Linked DNA regions of Homo sapiens: all the other regions are linked to region 2. The links are contacts of gene promoters, found by promoter capture Hi-C in blood cells and fetal thymus (Javierre and others, 2016). All regions are on one chromosome and are shown on one strand. The core of a region is centred on a gene start or on the middle of the fragment in contact, and the rest is flanking DNA. Distances in the headings are between cores, read along the strand shown.

Evidence for each region. The method cuts DNA at HindIII sites, captures the fragments that hold promoters and counts their contacts. A CHiCAGO score of 5 or more calls a contact.
Region 1: a fragment that was not itself captured here is called in contact with the fragment with the promoter of TMEM108-AS1 in region 2 in 1 of 17 cell types (megakaryocytes); the score reaches 6.6 in megakaryocytes.
Region 3: a contact is called between a fragment that was not itself captured here and the fragment with the promoter of TMEM108-AS1 in region 2, in 1 of 17 cell types (megakaryocytes). The highest score is 6.6, in megakaryocytes.

The regions. Positions count from the first base shown.
Region 1 is chr3:133,062,331-133,066,622 of GRCh38, reverse strand. All of the region lies in intron 2 of TMEM108 (transmembrane protein 108), which reads right to left. Among named protein-coding and RNA genes, the nearest start is that of TMEM108, 26 kb to the right of the region's middle. The HindIII fragment of the contact is 4,505 bases long and covers 1-3,933 here.
Region 2 is chr3:133,254,802-133,259,347 of GRCh38, reverse strand. It overlaps TMEM108-AS1 (TMEM108 antisense RNA 1), which reads left to right and starts at 2,227. Exons shown (of 3, transcript NR_110812.1): 1 at 2,227-2,323. The region is part of intron 3 of TMEM108 (transmembrane protein 108); the gene reads right to left. The HindIII fragment of the contact is 5,600 bases long and covers 1,897-4,546 here.
Region 3 is chr3:133,079,591-133,084,055 of GRCh38, reverse strand. All of the region lies in intron 2 of TMEM108 (transmembrane protein 108), which reads right to left. Among named protein-coding and RNA genes, the nearest start is that of TMEM108, 43 kb to the right of the region's middle. The HindIII fragment of the contact is 1,266 bases long and covers 1,860-3,125 here.

The DNA.
Region 1 (4,292 bases), core at 432-2,931, 190 kb after region 2:
GAAGGTAAATGGTTTGCTCCTATACTAAGGATATCACGTAATGGAATAGAGGTCCTTTTTAAATGGTTTCTAGGATGCCCAACGCTTCATATATGTGTCCATGCAAAAGCATGAATATCGGCCCTAAAAGCCAGCAATTTTCTCAGACCTTTTCAAGTTCTATTCTTATTATCTTGCTTTTTTTTCTTATTTCTTCTATTGCTTACACTCTTAAATTTTAAGTTATTATTTTTTATGAATCTTTGTAAACCATCCTAAATCCTTTCTAGAACAAGGTATAAAATAAATGAGATGTACATTATAAATAACAATATAGTAATACAAAACAGACTGAAGAGATCACTGTGCAACCAGGCACACACAACACTAAAGAGGCTCATACCAGATGGCAATGGGAATGAACTTGGTAGTTATCCCAGCATAACACCAATTAAATTCCAAGCTCCAAGAAAGTCTTTACTATAGAGAAAAGACGAGTCTAAGTAATGGGAATTACTTAGACCAATGGGAATCTAATAAGGAATGTCACGTTTGGGCCACCAAATATAGTAAAGTAATTGGAATATAAGTACATGTGAAGAATTATGACAATAAAATCCTCAAAAAACCACACTAATGAAGCAAAAGAGAGTAGCCTTATGTAGCTATTGTGGTTGCTCTGAATCCTTACACTTAACTTAGAGAGTATATTTACCCATCAAAGAAGAAACTCCAGCACAGTGTATTTCCTTGTTCACGGAACTAAAATTGCCATGCATTAATAACCCAACGATTATACTGAAAAATTCAGATGTGCGGTCCCACCCATTTTAAGCCTTGAAAATGGCTGAACTATGTAGAAATAGGCACATACTGGTATTGTAATTTCCATTTTAAAATGATATTTTCATTCCTAGAATGCTATGTACAAATGCGCATACCACTAGAATGCCATATGGACATAAATTTTTTTTAAATTTAATAAGAATTGGCCCAGTTATGAATAAAACAACTTGTTGGAAATAAGGTTGAGAAGCTATTAATTAAATGCAGCATAGATGTTCTTAATTAGAAAATATGCACCTTATGTCAAGGTCCTTTCATTTATTTTTAGGAAGAAAGAACCTGTTTCTGGAACATGAAAAAAAAATTGGGTTTCTTTTATACTAACTAGAGCTACAAAATATCAAAACTAGGTCAGAGGTGGAGAGATCAGACTAACCGCACTTATTTACCATAGCTGGGAAAGGCATTCTTCTGTAATGGAAAACTGTGTGAACCAACAGTCAGGTGTCTCTCTGCATATGCGAACATCTCTGTGCATGTGTGTGTGCATGTGCGTGTGTGTGTGTGTGTGTGGCTACCTATGTAAGTGTTTATTTGTACATATCCTTACACACAACCACACTTTTGGAGTCCACAGAATTAAAAAAGAATACATAGTGCTAAAAAAAATGCAGTGACAATTTAATCCATCCAACAAATACACATTGAATAGCTCTATGTTCGAGGATCACATCATTGTGACTTTAGCATCTATGCCTTCCCAAATGGTGAGATAGTTTCCCCAACTTCACCATGTAAGACATAAAAGGCCTGGTTGTGCCTTGTAAAAGTTTACAGGCTGGAAGGGGTCTGATTTCACCCTGCTATCTCAGGACTTTCCAGATCTTCCAAAGGACTGATGATCATGACTCTATCACAGAGGAGAGGAAGTATCAGTGTAAAGTTCTGGTTGGAAAAAAGACCAGTAAACCAACTTTGGCTGTGTTTATTATTTACATACTGCATAAGTGATCTCTAGGATAGATTTATTTGTAAAGAATGAAGGGACACCAGTGAAACCATTATTTCATCAGCATTATCTTCCCCTACTTCAATCTACCTTTGGAACCTCTATCACGTGCTTAACTGTCCATTAAAAAAAAAAAAAAGGTTTATTTCTCTAACCAACCTTTATATTCCCATTTGGTCCTTCACTATGTTTTGAAAATTGTGACTCAAATCTGAGAAGTCCTCTTACATACAAAGTGGAACTTTAAAAGTGAAGTATTAAAACAATTCAAGTATTTCATAAAATCACATTTCTGTACAATATCCTTGTAAAGGAAGCAGGATTCCAGAAAGGGGAATTAGAAATAAAATTAAGTCCTTTTGGCAAATCTTTCCTGAATCTCTTTATTTATACAAATATGTTTAGGGCTCAACAGACTGTGACATAAAGAATAAAGATATTAAAGACCCACGCATCTGTCCACAAGGAGACAGTAAGGATTTATTAAGGAGTTCATTTTGAATTTCAAATCTAGTGCTTCCAAAGAGTTAAACGTATATTAATTTCCCTAATATAGATTAAAGGTCACTTCATGTATTTAATTTCTTTTGGCTTGTACTATGGAATCTCTTCTGGAGTGACCAGAAGATAGAACTGAATGCTTTTTAGCTCAGGAGAAGTGATAACTGGTTTTAGACTAAATGGCCTTCCTGCAGACAGTATCTCAATTCAATAGAGTCTTACAGGGCACCATCACACACGCTCTGTCCTCAGACTGGCAGACATTACCGCTTTCTTCTGTCCAGACAAAAGAAACACAAGTAACTGGGAAGGAAAGAAGCAATAAATGAATGAAGGATCCTCACTGGGCACAAAGTAATCAGAAATATGGCACAAGGGAATGCTGTCTATGTGGTGAAATACGTGAAGTGATCCACAAAGTTGAATAAAACATGAGAATGTTCCATGACCTCTACTGTTCATTATACTTCCCTGGACAGGGGTAATGAATGCTTGGTCTCAAGGCAGCCCCTCCTCTGGCTGGGGTTAAATGGGGGCCCTATGTGCTCTGTATAAGACCACCCCCTCAAGCAGGAGTCCAGCGGGAGACCCAAAACCCTGGGTGCTGTCCTTTCTCCCATTCCAGTCTATAAATCAATAGCCTTGGGAATATCAGGACTAACTTAATCATATCTTTTATCCCTGTTAAGAATACAAGGAGAAGCCCTCAAGGACTCACAAGTCATTTCTCAACCTTACACTTTTACCACCATATGGCTCTTTCCATTCCTCTTCCTGACCCTATCACCCACCATTCCCAATGCTTGAAACCCTTTCCCTGTGCTGTCTGGAACTTATAGTCATTAGCAAGATCCCACTGCTCACTCCACCTCTAGCCCCCCTATGTGGTGACTATTTTCTCCCCACATTCCCTGAACTTCAAGGCTTAGAGGTAGAGTGGGTTATCTTTATCACATCTATACCACTGTCCCTCCTTTCTTCTGTAAAATCCTGACCTTTGATTCACACAAAATCAGACTATATTGCCCACTCTCCCTCATTCTGGGAAGATCTGGGTTCCTGGTTCCCTGTCACTCTTCATCACTCCTGTGGCCATGACTCTAAGTGAATTCAGTAGCCACAGAGATGATCATTCCAATACCCTGGCTTTTCAGTCCCTGTTCTCTGCCCTAACTCCAAGGTCACACACCACTTCTTAGCTGAAATTCCTCCATGTTGCTCTCCCACCACCAACATCTCCTGTCAGTTTCCCATCTCTGATACCACAACTTCAGCAAGTCTCTGACCCCAGGGAGACCTCCAACCCATTGGATACTACAGCTTTTCACTGTCCCTCACCCTCCTCATGTCCAAATTCACCTCCTTAGCCAATTTAAATTCCACAGTCAATTGTCATAACCACTCCCTTCCATACATGCTGAACTCTATCCCCACTCTAGTGTGGACCTGCTCACTCGGCAAAAACATGGCCTCGTTCACTTCAACACTCCACTCATACACATGAAGGCCCAGAGGGAGAAAAACACATAACACCTTTGAATGATCTCACTCGAAAGCCACAATATGGAACCTCACATTGCTTAGGTGATTGGCAAAAGTCCTCAGAAGTGTTGTCTCCAAACCTTCTCCTTCCATTCTCACTTGAATCCACAGAAGCTTGATAAATCTTTGTGGAAATGAACTGACATTAAGTAACATCACCAGATTTTAGACTAAAACAAATTTAATTATGTGTAAATACATTTTATATGAGATTTACTTCAGATTTCAAAGGCAGTTTGTGTCCTGGGTTAGAATGTTTCCAGAGATTCCTCTTAGCACAAATTCTTATGGTAAGACTATAAAAGAGGAGAATGTGTGGCAGAGAACATTAAAGATTCAAGGTCACTAACCAAATTCCTTTAAATCTATCCTGATTCTTCAGACCACAGGCTCATATCCTACTGGCTCCAAAGACTGTTCTACTGGTCCATTAGCTAGAGACAGATGTTTTTATTCTCTGAGCCTAAAGAAAATT
Region 2 (4,546 bases), core at 978-3,477:
TCCTCAAGCATTCATAGGAAAGAGATAATTCCAGAACTCCAGAAGAATTTCACAACACCAAAAACCCTTCTTCGGTCATCAAAACACAATTCTTATAAAGGAAAGAATGACATCTCACCACAGGCTAGAGAAGCAAGCATTAGAAGCAAAATGAAAGAATCAGTCCAGGTTTATTAAAGTACGAAGTGAAACAGATGACAACACTTAATTATGTAAGACTTCTGACTTAGTGGTGGTAATGTATTAAGGCCAATAAGGTCTCCTTGGTAACTGGGAGAAATGTTAGTGGACTTGCTACCCTATATTTAAAAAGCTACCCATCAGGACAGTCTGAGACTGAAGGATAAACCAAGGGAAAAATGAAAGGATTATTGCATATGGGCCTGCAAATACTAAAACAAAAGCAATTATTTTCAAATCATTCTCTCAATCTTACATTTCACTTTTCTATATCTTGTCAGTGAATTTTAAGCCACTTGGAGGCAGAGATCAGTGAATTGTTGCCTACATAACAATTCTAAGAATAAACTTTTTCTCTTGGATAACGTTCTTCAGGCCATGAGGTATGCTCACCTGGTTCCCTCTCCAACTCTCTCTCTGTCTGAATGAAGAGTTCCTTTTGCTTCATGCAAAGTTTTGGGGATGACCACTGAGTCAGAGTGGATACAGTCTGAAGAGGATGAAGAATAGCAGTATGAGGCAGTGGTGATGCCAAACAGCTCTGAATGCTGACTGGTTCTAGGGAATGCACCTCTCTGCCCTCTGAGCTGCAGGGACAGGGAGATGAGCTGGCAGCAGCTGCCTCAGAGATAAGGATGTGAGACACAAACACCTAAGGAATTCCTTTGGACTTCCATCACCCCCCTCCATCCAACTTTATCAAAAGCGAGGTGGTGTGGGCAGCTGGCTCCTTTCAGCCTGGGCCCACCACATGGTATGCTTTCCTGCCTTCACAACATGCCCTTCTTGTAGCTTGATGGAAACTATGGTGAGGATCTTAGTCTGTTAGGGCTGCTATAATAAAATACCAAACAACAGCAATTTACTTCTCATAGTTTTGGAAGCTGAGAAGCCCAAGATCAAGGTGCCAGCAGACTCAGTTTCTGGTGAGGGCCCGCTGGCTGGTTCATAGACCATACCTTCTCACCATGTCTTCAAACGGAGGAAGGGGTGAGAAAGCTCCTTAAGGTCTCTTTTATAAGGGCATTAATCCCATTCACGAGGGATCCACCCTCATGACCTAATCACCTCCCAAAGGCCCCACCTCCAAATACCATCACATTGGGCTTCAGGTTTCAACATATGAATTTGGGGGGATCATAAACATACAGTCTACAGCAGGTTATAAATGGTATTTTCACTATGGGACTCAGGAGCATCTGAATCCTGTCCTACCCATCTCCCTTTAAAGGAGATACATAAAGCAACCCCTCCTTTAGCAAAAATTTTCTGGGCCTCTGGCTTCTTCCAAACAGGGATAGCTCAGTGTTATACACTAAGTAAGTTGTTGCATGAAAAATAAAAAAGAAAAGCCCCTGCACCTGTCTTTCTCAACAGACAACTGGCTGAAGTTTACAACTAGGCAGTATCTACTCCACTTAGTTTAGATACACTACTTAACTACCAGAGAGTTTCATCCCTTTTCATTTGCTCCTTTACTCAGTAACAGCTCTCAAAGATGGGGAAGGAAGAGAGGCATATCTAAGTTTTTAATATTAGTCTAATTTGCCAACTTAAGCTTTCAAATACCACTGAATAAATGACAAGTAGATTCACTGAATTTAGAGGGAGAAACACAATACTTCTTTAGGTTTTGTTTCAGGGGGATCAAGTTTTAAGAGGCAGTGAAATGAAGTCAGGTTCAACTGTTCCAAATTTCTAGACACGAGCAAAGCTTAAGCCATGCAACAATGTATTGCTTTTCTAAGGATTATTAATAATGCATTTGTAACTACTCAGAGACTGGCAATAAACTTTCAGAGAGTGAATAAGAATGTAATCTGTCCACAGCAACATAGACAAATTACTTTGATAAATTCTTTACGAGGGTGCCTCATCTCCTGCAATTCTTGGATTGGTTACAAGTCTATAGTTAATCCTTCAATAACTCCCACAAGCACCTCATTACTCATAATACTGTGACATCCTGAGTTGTAAAAGAGGTGCTGTTATATAACACAGGCACTGTATAGCAGCCTTAGGTTATGAATATTAAGAGACAATCTCAAATGAGATAATATCAATAAAGACCTCCTGTCGTCTCTACCCAAGAAATAAACTAAAGGAAGGCAGTGTCCTTGCAGGCATTTTGACATCAGGGATGGTAAGTACAGGCACTGTTTCCCTTTCAGTTTCATGATTGTCATCCCTCTCACCAAGCCATGACTTTAGAACTATGTTCACGGGTAAGACTGACTCAGTAATTTTACTTTCTCATACTATCATTTTCTGGCTTTTGCATTAAGGTTATAGTAATTTCATGAAGTGAATTGTGGAGCACTTAACTGGCTAGTTTGGTCCATTTACATTTACTGTGCTTACTGACATTTGGATTTATTTCTGCCTTGTCCTACTTATCCAGATTTCTCTATATCTATTTTCCCCTTCTTGATTGCCTTCCTTTGGACTGAGTTTTTTCTTTCTTATTCTAATAGTTCTGTTTTACTGGTTTGGAAGTTATGAATTCTATGTCTTTTAGTAGTTTCCTTGAAATTTTGCCATGCCTACTAAAACTTGACTATGCCTAAGTTAATTGATATATTTTCCATCCTAACAATACAAGGAATTTATAAGACTTTGATTCTCTTCATCCCCTCCCAACTTAACTGCTATTATTGTCTAGTATATTTATTCTGTGTTGTTTTTCATTAACCCCACATATTAGACATTATTATATGTTTCATACAGAAAATGTTTGCTTGGGTTGACTACTATGTTTGCCAATTTCTTTGCTGGCTATTCCTTCTTATATTTAAGACCTTGTTTCTCAGAAGAAATGTTCTTTTTCCTGAGGCATATCTTTTAGAAGTTCTGTAAATGAATGTCCATCTGTGAAAATGTTCTACTTTAAAAAATATCTGAAAATGTCTTTATTTTACCCTCGTGCTTTAATGATTATTTGATCAGATCTTTAATTCCAAGTTGCTGGTTGTTTTCTATCAGCATTTTAAAGATATTATTTCACTGTCTCCTTGATTCTGTGGTGGCTGTTGAGAAGTCAACCATCAGTTTAAATATTATTCCTTTATAAGGAACATTTTCCTCTGGCTGCTTTTAGGATTATCTCTTTATTTGCTGTTTTTATAACCAGGCATGCATGCAGTTCTTGTTGTTTATTTATTTATTTATTTTTGAGAAGGAGACTCACTCTGTCAGCCAGTGCAGAGGCTGGAGTGCAGTGGCATGATCTCGGCTCACTGCAAGCTCCGCCTTCTAGGTTCAAGCAATTCTCCTGCCTCAGCCTCTTGAGTAGCTGGGATGACAGGCGTGCACCACCATGCCTGTCTAATTTTTATATTTTTAGTAGAGATGGGGTTTTACCATGTTGGCCAGGTTGGTCTTGAACTGCTGACCTCAGGTGATCTATCCACCTCGGCCACCCAAAGAGCTTGGATTACAGGCGTGAGCCACCACGCCCAGCCCTTATTATTTTTGAGACTCACAGTATTCCCAGAATCTGAGTATGCATATCTTTCATACATTCTAGAAAATATTCTAAGCCATTATGTTTTCAAATACGTCTCCCCCATTGTCTCTATTCTCTCGTTCTTGAACCCCCACCTGTACTTATGTTAGGCCTTCTCATACTAGCTTCTGTGTCTCAATTACCCTTTCTCATTTTTTTACTTTCTTATTTCTCCATAGTATATTCCAAGTAATTTCTTAAGCTCTGTTTTAGTACATTGATATTTTTAAAGAAGATGTTTAATCTGCTAGTTAAGCCATCCACTGAATTTTAAATTCCAATAATTACATGTTTTTAATTTTGTAAGTTGTAGCTGGGTCTTTTTTCAAGTTGAGTAGTCTATCGTCTCATAATCTTCCTCCCCTATTTCCATCTTTTGTTTCAGTATTTTTATATAGTGTAACAGACTGTCTCTAAAATGGATGCAACAATACTCTGGCTCCAAATGCCTTCTCAGAACCTTGCCAATCCTCATCAAGAAATGAAATACATTTTCCCTTCCCTCAAGCCTGGCTAGGCCATGTAATCTCCTTAATGAGTAAAATATTGTGGAAGTGATGCTGCATGACTCTGAAGGTAGGTTAGAAAGGATTATATGACTTCTATCTGGTTCTCTCTGCACACACCCTGGGAACCAATTAACATACTGTGAAGAAGTCAAGGCCACATGGAGAGGCCACATTTGGGTGTGTGGTTGATAACTCCAACTAAGGTCCCATTCACAGCCAGCATGAACCACCAGAAATATGAATGAATGAGACTTCAGAGTATTGCAGCAGTCAGCTGTCAAGTCACTTCAGCCTTCAGGCCATCTAGCTGAGGACCCAGACAACATGGAACAGAGACAAATCATTCTTCCTA
Region 3 (4,465 bases), core at 1,243-3,742, 180 kb after region 2:
GATGACCAAAAACTTCCTAGCTGAAAAGCAACCCCTTGGATGCCTTATCTCTGCTCCCTATAACCGTGTCAAGAGATTCATCTTCAGTGTCTTAAGAAATAGTTTATGGAAGGTCTCAGCTATGAACACTAAGGGAATATGACATATTCAGAATGGATTACCATATGCCTTTTTTTTTTACTTTATCTCAGGACTAGCCCCTATGGAGGAGAAAGGGGAAAACAATAGAATAAAAGTGAACAGAATCACCTTCACCCCCCAATTACATGACTGTCCTGTCCCTTTGAAAGTCCCTTAGCAAAATGTGCTTTTAAAAAATTATGTATTCCTTTATTTTAAAAAAACAGAAATACCATTGTCTTTGGAATGTCCTCAGGGTTAGAACTATCTAAAAATAAAACATTACTTCAGGGACATGAAAAGAAATATAAATTGCCCAATGAATGTGACACCACAAAATGAATTAGACACAACAAAGAACTATATGAGATACACTTCTTTCAAAGCTGCCCCTTTTCAGTCCACAGTCCTTATAATTCAGTATGTCTAAGAACAGTATTAAACCAGAGAGGAAGTAAACTTCTGAAGGTTGGACAAGGGCAAAAACATCTAAAAAGGAGAAAACAACTTACCCAACGTCCTGTTCCAGCTTAACAGTCCATGTGCCATGTATGGGCAACTCTCTCATCTGTCTCAATCCATTTATTCAACAGATTGACTGAGCACTCAGTATGTGTGAGGTGCTGGGAGGGGGATGAGGAGTGAGGGACAGTTTCCAGTGCCATCACAATGTGCTGTAACAGAGGCATGTACAGGATACAGATGGATCACATGGGAAACAGTCAAGCCAGGCTGAGGAGTGGGGCGGCGGGGGGTGGGGGGGGGCTTTCCAAGTAATGTCTCTTGAGAGGCGAAACAGCTTGGTAGTTGAAAGCACAGGCTCAGGAACAGACTTGCTGGGCTCAAATCCCAGCACCACTGGCTCAGTGACTTTTAGTGGGTTGTTTAACTTCTTGTACTGTAAAATTGCAACTTTTTGAAAAAGTTACTGTTTTAGACGTATAGTGGGCATTAAATGAGTATTTTGTACAAAAAGTTTACAGGCCAAGTATGGTGGCTCACGCCTGTAATCCCAGCACTTTTGGAGGCCGAGGTAAGAGGATTGCTTGAACCCAGGAGTTCAAGACCAGCCTGGACGATAGAGGGAGACCTTGTTTCTATAAAACAATTTTAAAAATTAGCCAAGCACAGTGGTGCCTGCCTGTAGTCCTAGCTACTTGGGAAGCTGAGGCCAAAGGATCCCTTAAGTCCAGGAGGTTGAGGCTGCAGTGAGCTATGATTACACCACTGTACTCCAGCCTGGCAGACAGGGTGAGACCCTGTCTCAAAACAACAATAATAATAATAAATAAAAAGGTTAAAATAGCGCTTGGCAAACAAGTGACCATATAATATACTGTCTAAACTGGGATATTTTTAACAGGAAAGAGGGCAATACTAATTAATACACTATGACAAAAGGAGTCAACCAGAAGCGTCCAAGTCAAATCAGGACATTTGGCTACCCTCAATATGTGCTCATGGTTGTTATTATTGAATGATGTTGGCTAAGCAAAGAAGCAGGGAAAGGACGTTATGGCAGAAGTAACAACGCATACAACGACAGAGAGTCAAGAAACTGGGGTGAGTTCAAGGAATTCAGGTTCCTTTGCCACCCACTCCTGTAAGATGGACTTCCTTTCCTGCAGAGCATTCAGTGCCGCTGGCAGTTATGCACCATCATTGTGAATATCTGATTAGCATTTATTTCCCCCAGTAGACTGTAAACTCCAGAGAAGCCTGGTTTTGCTCAGCAAGCTTGGTTATGGGCACAAAGCAGGCACTCAAATATCTGTAGAATGGCTGTTGAAGTAACTTGGCATGGCAAAGGAGAGAGCACAAAGCAGACTGCAGAGGTCATAAAGTATGCTGCTCAGATTTATTTTCAAGACAAAATCTGCCACAAGGAGTAGAGTTAGCTGACAGCTCCTAGCTGTGGGTGTCTTTAGGATCTGCCACGGCTTTGAAGCTGAGGTCATGCTCTACTAAGGTAGCTCCAGCCAATAACCAAGCAAGGCTTGCCACTCCCAACCAATGGGGACTCCTCTATAGATGATCTTTGCACAAAAGTTCCTTGTTGCTCAGAGTTACATTGCAGTACAATGCTCTTCCTATCTGATTGTACTTGATTCCTTTCTTTTTCATGTGTCTCACTTGGTATTGCAGTCTAAAGTTTCCCTACCTACTCTTTTTCCCTTTCCCTATTATCTTTCCCCAATAGATCTTTTGCATTTCTAATCCCATGTTGGTGTCTGCTTCCTGGAAGAACCAACCAACATGAAGGCAGAGAGATACAATGCTGAAGCATTAAATAAGAGTCAGAGTTACAAGTGTTATGCAAAGAAATGTGAATTTTATTCTGGCCTGCAGGGAAATGTGACAGATCTATATTCCATATAGCAAGAATGGATTGAAGGAATGGCACAATCATTGCTGTGAACTGAATTGCGTTCCCCCCAAATTCATATGTTGAAGCCCTAATGTGATAGTATTTGTAGATGGAGTCTTTGGGAGGTAATTAGATTTAGATGAGGTCATGAGGGTGAGGCCCCTATGATGAGATTAGTGCCTTTATAAGAAGAGATACCAGAGTGCTTATTCTTTCCCTTTCTGCCGTGTGAGAACACGTCAAGGAGGTGGCCATCTGCAAACTGGGAAGAAAACCCTCACCATATTCTGACCATACTGGTACCCTGATCTCAAATTTCCCGCATTCAGAACTGTGAGAAAACAAATTTCTCTTGTCAAACCGCCCAGTCTATGGTATTTTGTGATGGCAGCCTGAGCTAGGACAGTCATCTTCCAGTGAAACGTCCAGATGAGAAATGATGAAGGTATGGATGAAGGCATGAGAAGTGACGACACTGTGCTATGGAACTGTTCAAGGAAACTGTAATTATCCACATTTTATATCCGAGAAGTTGTTATGTGGAAAGATAAGAATAACTTACCCAAGATCACCCATCTGGTCAGCTTAAAGTTCATGTTCCTTTCATCAAACGACTCTGCCACCCAGAGGAGAAGCTTTAAGGAGCTAAAGGGGAAGAGGATGAGTTCCTTTTTCATGTGAAGAGACCCTACTTGTGTCTATCTAGAGACTAAGCTTTCATTCACGCAAGTCCTAGTATTTAAAAAAAATGGAGAAAATATCCAAATATTAAGTACTAGGATGAAAGTACTTCACACTGGGTACATTGAACTGTACTGGCTTTCCTCTAGATATACACTTTACAATCAGCATGTAGCACTAAGTGTCTACTAATTTCAGCTTCTGAGTGTAAAAAAAAACAATATATGAGTTGAATGAAGGAAATGAACACACATGTGAATAACCAAATATGTGAAGAGATATGAACAAAGAGCTATGGAAAGGTATATAGGATCATTAATTCTGACTAAAGAGCTCTGGGAAGGATTCCAGGGGAGAAAGTGTTTGAGTTGGGCCTTGAAGAAGGAACAAGGATTAGACAAAGCATTCCTTCCTTGAAGTTATTGTCAAGACCAAAGGTAACCAACATATGTCCTTACATGCAAAAAATATGGTGAAGATGTAAATGAGTGGCTTAGTTTCTGCATCATACTTTATGTAAATCAGTTATTTTGAGGCCTCTGGAAGTTAATCACAACTCAAAGAGTTTGAAATTCACCTTCACATAGCCATCAGTTCCTTATTCCTATTTATACCCTCTACAGCAATGAATGTAAAAGAATGGCAAAAGAAGGGGCCGCAGACAGTGGACATCCTGCCATTATCCCTGTTAGGGATAATGCTCTTGGGAATGCAGTTGAACGGTCCCCCATCTGTGCTCTCCTCTAGGCTTCTTTTTCATGTGTAGGGAAGCTTAGGCAGCTCACTTTAGCATACAGCACTATTTTATCAAGCATCTACCTTGGACGAGATGACAAGTAAGTATGTGGAAAGAGTCCATTCCCCCTAATTGTGGCCTTGGCCTGTAGCAAGAAGACATCTGTGCAAAACTTAGATCTCACACCCCAAGCATTGGAGTGAGGCCTCTGGCTATATAGAGAAAGCACTCAGCCTCCACCCAGAAGCTCCTTTACATGATGAGGCCCTGCCTTGAAGAGAAGGCATACCTAGCACCTCTGCCTCAGCAGGTAAGCAAGACGGTCACAGTCAAGCAAGACACACCCTTATTCCTCGCTTTCAAGCTTCGTGCCTGTCCCATCTGTCATTCATTTCAGAATGATACTTTGCTGGGGCCCTTCTGACCTGCAGTTCCTTACCTGCTGCCATAAACAGAATGTTTGTGTCCTCCCAAAATTCACATGCTGAACCTAATCCTAATGTGATGGTACCTGGACATAGGGCCTTTCAGACATGATTAGATCATGAACTCTCAAGAAT